Regions from separate parts of the Homo sapiens genome. Here regions 1 and 2 are each linked to region 3. The links are contacts of gene promoters, found by promoter capture Hi-C in human tissues and cell types (Jung and others, 2019). All regions are on one chromosome and are shown on one strand. Each heading gives the region's core, a stretch centred on a gene start or on the middle of the fragment in contact. The rest is flanking DNA. Distances are from core to core; before and after follow the strand shown. Region 1 overlaps LSM14A (LSM14A mRNA processing body assembly factor). Region 2 has its middle 110 kb from the start of LSM14A. Region 3 holds the start of KCTD15 (potassium channel tetramerization domain containing 15).

Region 1 (3,324 bases), core at 557-3,056, 430 kb after region 3:
CATTTTCCCTGGTTTTCTCCTTTCACCATGAAATTGAAAATGTTTCGATATATTGGCCTTCAGGAGCTACTGCTAGAGAATTCTGTAACTCTGTATAGTAGCCTTATGTGTATAATGTAGCTTTTGACAGGTGTCTGTAAATTAAGTCAGCATAGTAACTATCTCAGTTAACAGTAAACTATCTTAGTTTATTGATTTTAGAAGTAGTGGAGAGGAAGGGCTATAACAGAAAGGACCAAAATCTTGTAAAGAGTTCCACTTGTAATAGCAACAGGCAGCTGGAAACAGAAAGACCTGTTAGCAGGAGTTCCATTGCCCAGTACTTAAAACTGGCCATTGTTGAGATCTCTCTGGAAAGAGATCAGTATTAGTGGCTTTTGGACCTGCTCTATTAATTTTAATGCTTTTGATATTGTGCCATCACAGCCAAGACTGCCAAAAATTATACTCAAGTCACCAGCTTATGCCATCCAGCCGTTGGTGGCCTTATGTAGTTGCGGGACTTCTGACTTGCAAAATCACCTTCCCAGCTAGGAGAATCTGTCTTAGGAACTCCAGAATAGCCCTCGCTTATCACTGTTACTGCCCTTAAGTTTGCCAGTGACACCTTGCTTACAGAATTCAGCAGTAGTATTTTCACAAATATTTTATTTGCCATTAACTCCTCTGCAATATTTGACACTGACCAACCACCCAATTTGGGGTCTTTCTTCCTAGTCTTTAAAATACTCTTCTAGGTTTTCAATTTATACTCTTCCTAATTTTTTAATACTCTTCATTCTTTTTTTTGGGGGGTGGAGGGTGTCAGGGTCTTGCTGTGTCACCCAGACTGGAGTGCAATGGCATGATCATAAGTCACTGCAGCCTCAACCTCCCAGGCTCAGGCAGTCCTCCCACCTCAGCCTCCTATGTAGCTGGGACTACAGGCATGCACCACCATGCCCAGCTAATTTTTAATTTTTTTTGTAGACACTGGGTCCCACTCTCACTATGTTGTCCAGGCTGGTCTTGAACTCCTGGGCTTAAGCGATCCTCTCACCTCAGCTTCCCAAAGTGCTGGGTTTATAGGTGTGCCATGGTGCTTGTTCCATCCTCCCTTTTGTAAGCCTGTCCTGGACCCTATGTGTTTCTGCACCGCATCTCTATCTGCACTGTTTGCTGTCAGCTTAACCTTCCTCAGACTGATCTCATCATCTTCCTTCTCTCCTGTCATCTCAGCTCTGCCTCCTCCCAGTGTTCCATGTTGGCTCATGGTATACTGCCCAGGCACTAGAGGTATCCATGATTGTGGCCTGTTGCCATTTATTCCTTTGAGATGTCCCTGTCAACTACCATGGTAACCCACCAGTTGGGCTTCAGACCTTCGTCTCTCTTTACCCCACTTTAAGGCAGATCAGCTACATTTTGAACAACCTGTGACAACTCCTTGTTGAAGACCACATTGAGTCAGCTTGGTCTGAGAAAAAGTACATTTAAATTAGACTTGGATCCAGATGAGAATAATAGCAGTAGTTACTAGTATGACCTTTCAGACCCTTGGTTTTGACATTTGTGAATAAAGAGTTGCACCATTTATTCTGAAATAACACCTTTTAAAGATCATTAAACTTTCAGAGTTGGAAAACATCTGAGAGGTCTGACCTGGTTAAAACATAAACCTCTTCTGCAGTATCTCTTATAGGGGCTGGGAGCTTACTCTTCCCAAGGGCATCCATCCCACCCCAGGGATGTTCTAACTGTTACAATCTCAGCTGGGCGTGGTGGCTCACACCTATAATCCCAGCACTTTGGGAGGCTGAGGTGGGCGGATCACCTGAGGTCAGGAGTTCGAGACCAGCCTGGCTAACATGGTGAAACCCCGTCTCTACCAAAAACATAAAAAAAATTAGCCGGGCGTGGTGGCACACACCTGTAATCCCAGCTACTCGGGAGGCTGAGGCAGGAGAATCATTGAACCTGGGAGGCAGAGGTTGCAGTGAGCCGAGATCACGCCACTGTACTCCAGCCTGGGCGACAGAGCAAGACTCCGTCTCAAAAAAAGGAAAAAACAAACCTTCCATGCAGTAACTGTGTGTGCTCCATGTGGTTACTAATACAAACATTTTTTTGACACCATGTCACACTGTTTATCATTTTGAGCCTTTTGTAAAACTCGTATCACATATATTGCAGAATTGAAAATGCATTGTCATAGTTACCTCCATGCATCTTTGTCTACGCTCCTGTATCCTTGACAGATAGTCCAGCCTCTGCTTAGGTGTTGCCAGGAGTGATGGACTCAGCGAACCCTCAGGCATGGCCCAGTGTTTAGGAGGCTCAGTTGTGACATTGTAGTCCCTGCTCTTCTTAATTGTGTGAGGATCCCACTTGATATATTTGGCCTCATTCCTCATTACCCTTTAACCTATCTGATTCAAGCAAGCTGCCTCATGGTTATCTCACATACACATTGTGCTTGATTCCAACTCCATCCCCATTCATTTACCAAATATACAGAATTCTTCAGATATGCCAGGCACTATGTTGAGCATTGGTGCTGACCGATGTAGGCCCAGCCCTTTTGATGTTTACATTTTGGTGGGAGACAGACATAGCTAAAAGTCAGGTCCCCCCTTTCACTTATCCTTTACAGCCTTGCCCAAGTTTTGCTCTGTCTTCTCTTCCTTCCTACACTGATTTCCTCCTCTTCTGACCTGTGGCTATCTGCTTTCTTTGGCACACATTTTAAATACACTGACATTCCCTATTTTTTGTATTTAGTTTTGTTCTGCATCACCAGCTAGATGAGAACCTCTTGGCTTTAGTGAATATGTATTCTACTTTTCTTTCCATGACAACACTCAGCTCAACATGGAGCCATAGTGGGCTTGAAGTAATTGCTTGTCATGTTGATTAGGAATTTGCCACTCCAGCCTTCAGTGAGACCAAAGGTCTGTCAATGTAGCTAGCCTTTGATTGTTCATTCCAGAGTTGAATAATCCTTTCATCTGCCACTAGAGCCCCGAACCCAGCAGCCCTACACCTCCTAAATCATAAAATCATTTCACCTGGCACCTTTAAAGGTAGAAAATGGTGAGTGATCACTGTCACATAAAGGAGATTTACCACTGAAGATTAAACTTGTATCTGAAACATCTAACACTTCCTCCCAGAGATGGACATGGATGACATTTCTGCAGCCTTCATGAAATGAGTTGGCTTTATTTTTTGTGCTATATTAGCATGAGTCATTGTGGTTTGGGGGTAAGCATAAATGAGCTTGGTTGTTTAATGAAAACATGGGTAAAGATAAAATCATAAAGTTTTAGAATCCTTAAAAGAATC
Region 2 (3,369 bases), core at 464-2,963, 270 kb after region 3:
AGGAGATTACAACAGTGCTGCAGAGTGGCTAGACAAGTCGGCCCTGGGGGTCTGCAGCCCTGAATTGAACGCAGGTCCATCACATCCTTAGTGTGAGGGCTTCCGAGGTCTGCAATTCCTGACCTTGGAAACAGCTTCATGGACGCGTGACCTGCACGGTCACACACAGCCTGGCACTTCAAAGGGCTCTGTTGTCCGTCTTAAAATTCTTAACAACTTTTAAACAAGAGGACCCGCATTTTCATTTTATAGTAGGCCCTAAAAATTATGTAGCTGGGCCAGGCGCAGTGGCTCATGCTTGTAATCCCAGCACTTTGGGAGCTGAGGTAAGAGGATTGCTTGAGCATAGGAGTTCAAGACCAGCCTGAGCAACATAGTGAGACTCCATCTCCACAAAAATTAAACAAAATTAGCTGGCTATGGTGGCGAGAACCTGTAGTCACAGCTACCCAGGAGGCTGAGGTGAGAGTATCGCTTGAGCCCAGGAGACAGAGGTTACAGTGAGCCAAGATCGTACCACTGCACTCTAGCCTGGGTGATGCAGTGAGACCCTGTCTCAAAAAAAAAAAAAAAAGAAAGAAAAGAAAAGGGGGGATGGGGGCAAATAAGTAAGTTGTAGAATTATTACTAAAGGAAACAAGAGGTTGAACTATTTGAAATCACCATTTCTGTAGTCAAAAATTGCCAAGTATCAGCAATTTCATATGGCTCAACTCAACACTTCTTCAAAATGTAGGTAGTCATTCAAAAGACAACATTATCCAAAAACATGACAGTGGCAAAAAGAACATTACTCATAAAAAAAAAAAAAAAGGAAGTAAATTTAGGAATCTTAAAAGGGCATCGTTTATTACTCTTGTGATCAGAGAAAAATACATAAATATTAATTTTTTAAGTGCAATAATTCCAGAAGAAAGCAAACATATCACTAGAATGGAACAAGAAAAGCAATAAATGAACAAACATCCTCGCAGAAACCATAGCTGAAGAACATATGTATGGGTAAAGAAACAAATACTATAGTAAAAATAGTTTTATGTTTGAATTACAGGCATATTATGGCACATGTGCAATAAGACAAAATGACAATTTATTAAAACATGAATTCTACTTGATAAAAAAGCAAATTAGTGACTGGGTAATTCCTCTATTTATTATTTATTGAGCTAATAACAAATGCACAAAGAAATGAGACAGAAGGTTTTAAAACCTATTGGAGCCCTCTTTGTGGAACTGGGCCAATCAGGATCTTGCAGGCAGTTCTCACTCATGATATAAAAGGCCCTCTGGAGCATTCAGATGGGCTTTTTTAAAAATATACACAGCTGCTTGACACCAGGATGCCACGATGGGGTAGGTTAAATGGCTACCAACAGATACAAAGCCCCCAGCACTTTTTAATTCCTTAACCTTTTTCATTCTAGGTCTAATGATACACTTAGAATGGATGGCAGTGGAGGGATGGGTTTTGACTCCCTCCCCCACCTCAAGAATATTAGCAGATGCAGGAGACGACAATTAAGGTGTCAACATAAGGAAAATCAAAAATAAAAAGTAACCAAAGAGTTTAGATGATTTGGGTCTATCCTCAGAGCTCAATCCCGTCTATCAGAACATTTGATGCAGTGATTTTTCCTTTCTTCTTAAAATACTGTCTCCCTGCGGCTGCTGGCTCACCATACTCACCTGGTTTTATTTCCGTTTTCAAGGACCTCTACCTCTCTGTTTTCCTTGCTGAATCCTCTTCCCCTTCGCGGCTTCTAACTGTTGGAGCTCCCCCAGGGCTCAGTCTGAAGACCTCTTGTCATCCCCCAATACCTGGCGGATTTCATCCGGACCTGTGGCTTTACATGCCACCTCTACTCTGAGTACCGCGCATGTATCTGTCCAGCCCCTCCTGGCACCCTGAGCTCCACACATGCTTAGCAAGCCACGGATGCTGCATTTTCATTTGCATGTGTGATATGGTTTGGATGTGTGTCTCCTCCAAACCTCATATTGAAATGTGATCCCTCATGTTGGAGGTGGGGCTGGGTGGGAGGTGCTTGGGTCGCGGGGGTGGATCCCTCATAAATGGCTTGGTCCTATCCTTGCTGTAATGAGTGAGTTCTCACTCTATTAGTTCACATTGATGTGCAGACACGCAGGTGCCAATGGATTGAGCTGATTGTTTAAAGGAGCCTGGCGCCTCCTCCCCTCTCTCTTGCTCCCTCTCTTGCCATGTGACACATATGCTTCCCCTTCTCTTCCACCATGAAGCTTCCTGAGGCCCCACCAGAAGCCAAGCAGACGCTGTGCCATGCTTGTACAGCCTGCAGAACTGTGAGCCCAAGAAACCACTTTATCAATTACCTAGTCTCAGATGTTCCTTTATAGCAACACAAAATGGACTAATATAATGCCTAATAGGTATTTCAAATTCCATATGATTAAAACAATGCTCGATGCTCCCAATCCACTTCTCCAGTCTTCCCCGTTCACTGATGAGACTTAACACTGGGAGCCATCCATCACAGCCCATCTCCAATTCATCAACAAGCTCTATGACCTCTACCTTCAAAGCGAATCCTGAATCCCACCATGTATCACCATCTCCACAAAGATCATCCCCTTCCAGGCACGACTGTCTCTCACCTGGATCTCTACAATAGCTTCATGACCGTCACCTGCTCCCTACTTACCACCCCGGGGTTCCGAGAAAGCAGCCAGAGTTTTTTCTTTTTCTGTGTTTTTTTGTTTTGTTTTGTTTTGTTTTGTTTTTGAGATGGAGTCTCACTCTGTCATCCAGGTTGGAGTACAGTGGCGCGATCTGGCTCACTGGAACCTCTGTCTCCAGGGTTCAAGCAATTATCCTGCCTCAGCCTCCTGGGTAGCTGGGATTACAGGTGTGCACCACCACGCCCGGCTAATTTTTGTATTTTTAGTAGAGACGGGGTTTCACCGTGTTGGCCAGGCTGGTCTCAAACTGCTAACCTCAGGTGATGCACCCGCCTCAGAGCCTAAAGTGCTCGGATTACAGGCATGAGTCACTGCGCCCGGCATCCTTTTTATAATCAGATCACATCATCATTCTCCCACAGAAGCCCTGCAATGGCCTCCCACCACCCTTGGAACAAACCCCACTACTTCAAGACATGGTAGCATAAATTCTCATAATTACATCAGAGGATGATCCGGCAATGCCGAGTAAACCTGAAGATTAGAACACCTTCTGGCCTCGCTATTCTTTATCCCGGTATCTCCCTGAGAAAAACGCTTGCACAGATTCTGTACAGAGATGTCACTGCAAAACCACTTATCAGAGTGAAAAGGTATAAAACACTGATTGTTCCTCAGTAGAGACATTGATACAAAAATTAAGTTTGTTCC
Region 3 (3,603 bases), core at 720-3,219:
GAACGCGCAGAGAGCGCGCTGCTGAGCCGAAGCTGGGAGCTGGAAGCCCGGAGGTACCGGGGCGTAGGGAGCAGAGTGGGCAGCCCTTGGGCCTCGCGGGAGCCCCTCCCAACCCCTGCACAGATCCCTGACCTACTTCCAGGGCTTCTTTCTGTTCCAGGAGCAGCTCAAAATCCATAAATTAAGGAAATTAACTGATGGGGCCTGCGGCATCTTTGTAAGCTATTTAAATCTATAAATTTACAACATCTTCTGCATATATCAAATAATTGAACTAACTGCAGGGATGTAACTTTAATGAGAAAATTTCCCCCTTTTTCCTGTAGTTCGAACTCGAAAATAAATAAATAAATAAAACCTTCCCTTAGGAGGAAAGTTTCGGCTGATTCCCGCGTAAAGAAGTTACGGAAGCGCTGTCTGGACGCTCTCTCCACGCGCGCGAGGTCCTCTAGTAGAGGGAGAAAGCCCCCCCCACTTCACCTTCCTCCCACTGGCACCCCGAGTCCCCCTCACCCCAGCTCCAGGCCGACCCCGAGCGCCCCCCACCCCGGGAGTGCGGCCGCTAGGGGGCGTCCAGGCCCGGCCGGAGCCGGCGGTCGGGACCCAGGCGCCGTTCCGGCCCGTGCGCACCCGCCCCGCGGTCCCAGCCGGTCTCCGGCCCGGGCGTCCCTGGAGCCAGGCGGGGGCGCAGTGCCGGCCAGTCGCGCGCTCCGTTTCCTAGGAGCCGGGAAATGGTCGCCGAGGAGGAGGAGGAGGCACGGGCGGGGCGCAAAGGAAACAGGAGGAAGAGGAAGGGGAGGAGGAGTGGGAGTGGGAGAAAAGGAGGAAGGGGCGGCCGAAGCGGAGACTGGGGAGGGGCGTCCGGGGCGCGGACCTCGGCCGCGGGGAGTCTTGGCTGCCGCCGTCTCCATCGCGCCGCGCGCGTAAAGGAAATGGCGCGTCTAGCCGCGAGCGGTCGGCCCGGTGCCCCAGCGCGTCCCTCCCCCGCGGCGGCCGACCGCGTGTCCGCAGACGTCACGGGAGAGGGGCAGCGGGGCAGAGACCCTGGGAGGGCGGCCAGGGAGCGGGGGAGGGGCGGCCTGGCCCCCGGCTCCGCTCCAGCCCCGACCGACTGGCAGCCCAGTTTCTTCCCAAGTCCCGCCCCCAGCCCCGGGCGCCGCGGCGGCGGCTGCTCTCCTCTTTGTAACCGAGGAGTCAAGAAATGTGAGAAACGTGCCCTGTGTTACTTATTTGGGAGCCGAAAATTTATGCCCAGCTGAAAGCGCCCGGGGAAATATTACATCAGATGAAATGACAATGATTAAAATCAGCCTCTCCCCCGCCCCCTCCCCGAGCCCGGAGGAGGCCCGGGCGCCGCGTGGCCGGCCGGCGGGGGGCGGGGGGCTGGGCCGCGGAGGGCGCTGGGGCCTGGGCGCACCGCTCCCGGGAGGGTCCTGGCCGCGGCCCCGGCGGGAAGGCGCGGGCTTCGGGAGAGGCGGGTGGGGATCGCCCGGCGAAAGGAGGGGAAACGGCGCGTTTTTGTCGCCAGGCGCGGGCGCGCGGAGCTAATTGCGACTCTAATCCTCTGCCCCGCGGCGCAGCCGAGCCCCGAGCCAGGAGTCGCCGCGCGCGCCCGTTCGCGCTGGGTAATTTGGGGCCGGATCGCTGCCCTTTACGTCCGGGCTGGGCCGCGGCGAGGCGCTGGCTAGGGGCTGGAGTGGGGGGCTGGTTTTCTCTCCAGCAATCGAGGGAGGCCGCCGGAGAGAGAGGAGGGAGGAGAGGAGGTGGGAGCGGCGGGAGGGCAGCCGGAGAGCGGCGCGAGGAGGAGGCGGCGGCGGCGGAGGCGGCGGCCGCGAAGAGGGGAGGAGGCGAGGGGAGGGTGGGGAGGGGAGGCCCCGGCGCGCCGCGCCGCGAGGGGCCGCGTGAAGCGGGGGCCGGGGCGGGAGGGGTGGGTGGGGGGAGGGTTGGGGGCGAGAGAGAAAGTAACTCCAGGACGAGACCGGAGCGACCCGCGCAGCGAGCATAGGCGGCGAAGCTGCGCCCGGCGCCCGAGACCGGCAGCTGCGTGGGGCGGGGGCTGCGCCCGAGCCCGATCTGCCGGCTCCGAGGTAAGCTCAGCGCGGGCGGCCACCGCTCAGAGCCGCGCAACCCTGCCCCGAAGTGGCTGCGATACCGAGAAAGTCGCCCGGCCAGGGTCTGGACCTGGGCGGGGGCGGCCGCTTTGTCCCTCTGCTGGGCGGCGGGGGCTGGCGGCGCGGGGGTGCCCAGCACAAAGGCCTGGTGCAAGAGTGGGGTTGCCCACGTGGGCTGGTCCTGGCCGCGGGTGGACCCTCCCCACGCGGGCGGTCTCGGAGCTTCCTGCCGCGCGGTGTGTGTGTGTGTGTGTGTGTGTGTGTGTGTGTGTGCGCGCGCGCGCGCGCGCGCTTGTGGAGGTCCCCGCACTCTGGCCCCTGTTCTGGGCCGAGCGCCCTGCAGAGCTGGCGAGTTTCCGGGGTCAGAAACGGGCTCACGCAACTGGGGCTTCGGGATGCACAAGTCCCGGCTTGGCGCCCAAAATCAGAGAAAGTCTCCAGTGGGACAGATGTGCGTCCTCTGACGCCCACCCCACGAGTCCGAAACCTGGCAGGAGGGGCTGTCGCGCTGGTGGTGGTCCCGGGCGCGCAGGGTTTGGGGCTGGGAGAGGGGCCGCGATGGGAGGGATCGCCGCCTGCAGATCCGGTTCCCCGCTGCCCGCCCGCACCCCCTGACCTGGACGCGCGCACCCGGCACACACTCGCAAACACACCCGGGGGCGGACCCCCGCCTCTGCAGCGCCTTTCTGTCTTCCGGCGGCCCCCACCCGCGACTGCAGAAAGATAAGCTTCAAGTTTTCGCTCCGTATCTCAAATGTGCATGAAGGAATTTAACTGCACGAGTGAATAACAGCATTAGTTTCAATTAATTTTTTTTTAATCCCGGCAACAATAAACTTTGAGAACAAAAGCGCTTTTACGTCCTTAATTAGGCGAGCTTCCCATCTGTGGTCTCCAAGTGTCTGCCTCTTGATTTAACTTTGTCCCCGCCCCGCCTCCGCGGCAACCCCTCCCAGCCCAGCCCCGCGCTTCGGGTGCCGCGGCCACCCCGCCCCGCGGCGCCTCCAGCCTTGGCCCAAGCCCTCTCCCGTCGCCCCTAAGTTCACACCGGCCGGCTGGCTCCGCGGCGGAGGCGGGAGGGGGGGGGTGGGGAGGCTGGCGCGCACCAGGTGGCCCGCCTGCCTCTCCGGGGCCACCCCTGGGACAATTGTGCAGGCCCCCAGGACTTTCGCCCCGGGCCAGCGCCCTGAGTGCGGAGCCGAGGGGAGCTCGAGAGGCGCCTTCTGTTTACCTTTTATGGTTAAAATAACAGCTTAGCAAAGAAGCGACTTCAGAAGAAGCGATTTAGTGAAATCGTCTCAAGCTGCCGCAGCTCAGCCAGTTTAATCACCCCCAGAGAGCCGAACAACTGCGAGCGCAATGGGACACAAAATCATTTTGTGTGTAAATGAGCGTGGCATTCTGCTCACTTCTCTCTGCTCGGGCGGGCGGGGCTCGGCGGCGGGCGGGCAGGGACCCGGGTCTCCCGCCGCAGCTGGAGAAGCGGGTCACT

Evidence for each region. The method cuts DNA at HindIII sites, captures the fragments that hold promoters and counts their contacts. A contact is called where the count stands out against the background at its distance.
Region 1: a fragment that was not itself captured here is called in contact with the fragment with the promoter of KCTD15 in region 3 in 1 of the 25 tissues and cell types used here (aorta).
Region 2: a contact is called between a fragment that was not itself captured here and the fragment with the promoter of KCTD15 in region 3, in 1 of the 25 tissues and cell types used here (lymphoblastoid cells).

The regions. Positions count from the first base shown.
Region 1 is chr19:34,222,298-34,225,621 of GRCh38, forward strand. The region is part of intron 9 of LSM14A (LSM14A mRNA processing body assembly factor); the gene reads left to right. Among named protein-coding and RNA genes, the nearest start is that of GARRE1, 31 kb to the right of the region's middle. RefSeq lists an enhancer at 2,477-3,042. The HindIII fragment of the contact is 6,610 bases long and covers 1-3,324 here.
Region 2 is chr19:34,064,419-34,067,787 of GRCh38, forward strand. No RefSeq gene overlaps it. Among named protein-coding and RNA genes, the nearest start is that of LSM14A, 110 kb to the right of the region's middle. The HindIII fragment of the contact is 4,946 bases long and covers 1-3,369 here.
Region 3 is chr19:33,794,901-33,798,503 of GRCh38, forward strand. It overlaps KCTD15 (potassium channel tetramerization domain containing 15), which reads left to right and starts at 1,970. Exons shown (of 7, transcript NM_001129994.2): 1 at 1,970-2,087. RefSeq lists a silencer at 549-668. The HindIII fragment of the contact is 17,228 bases long and covers 1-3,512 here.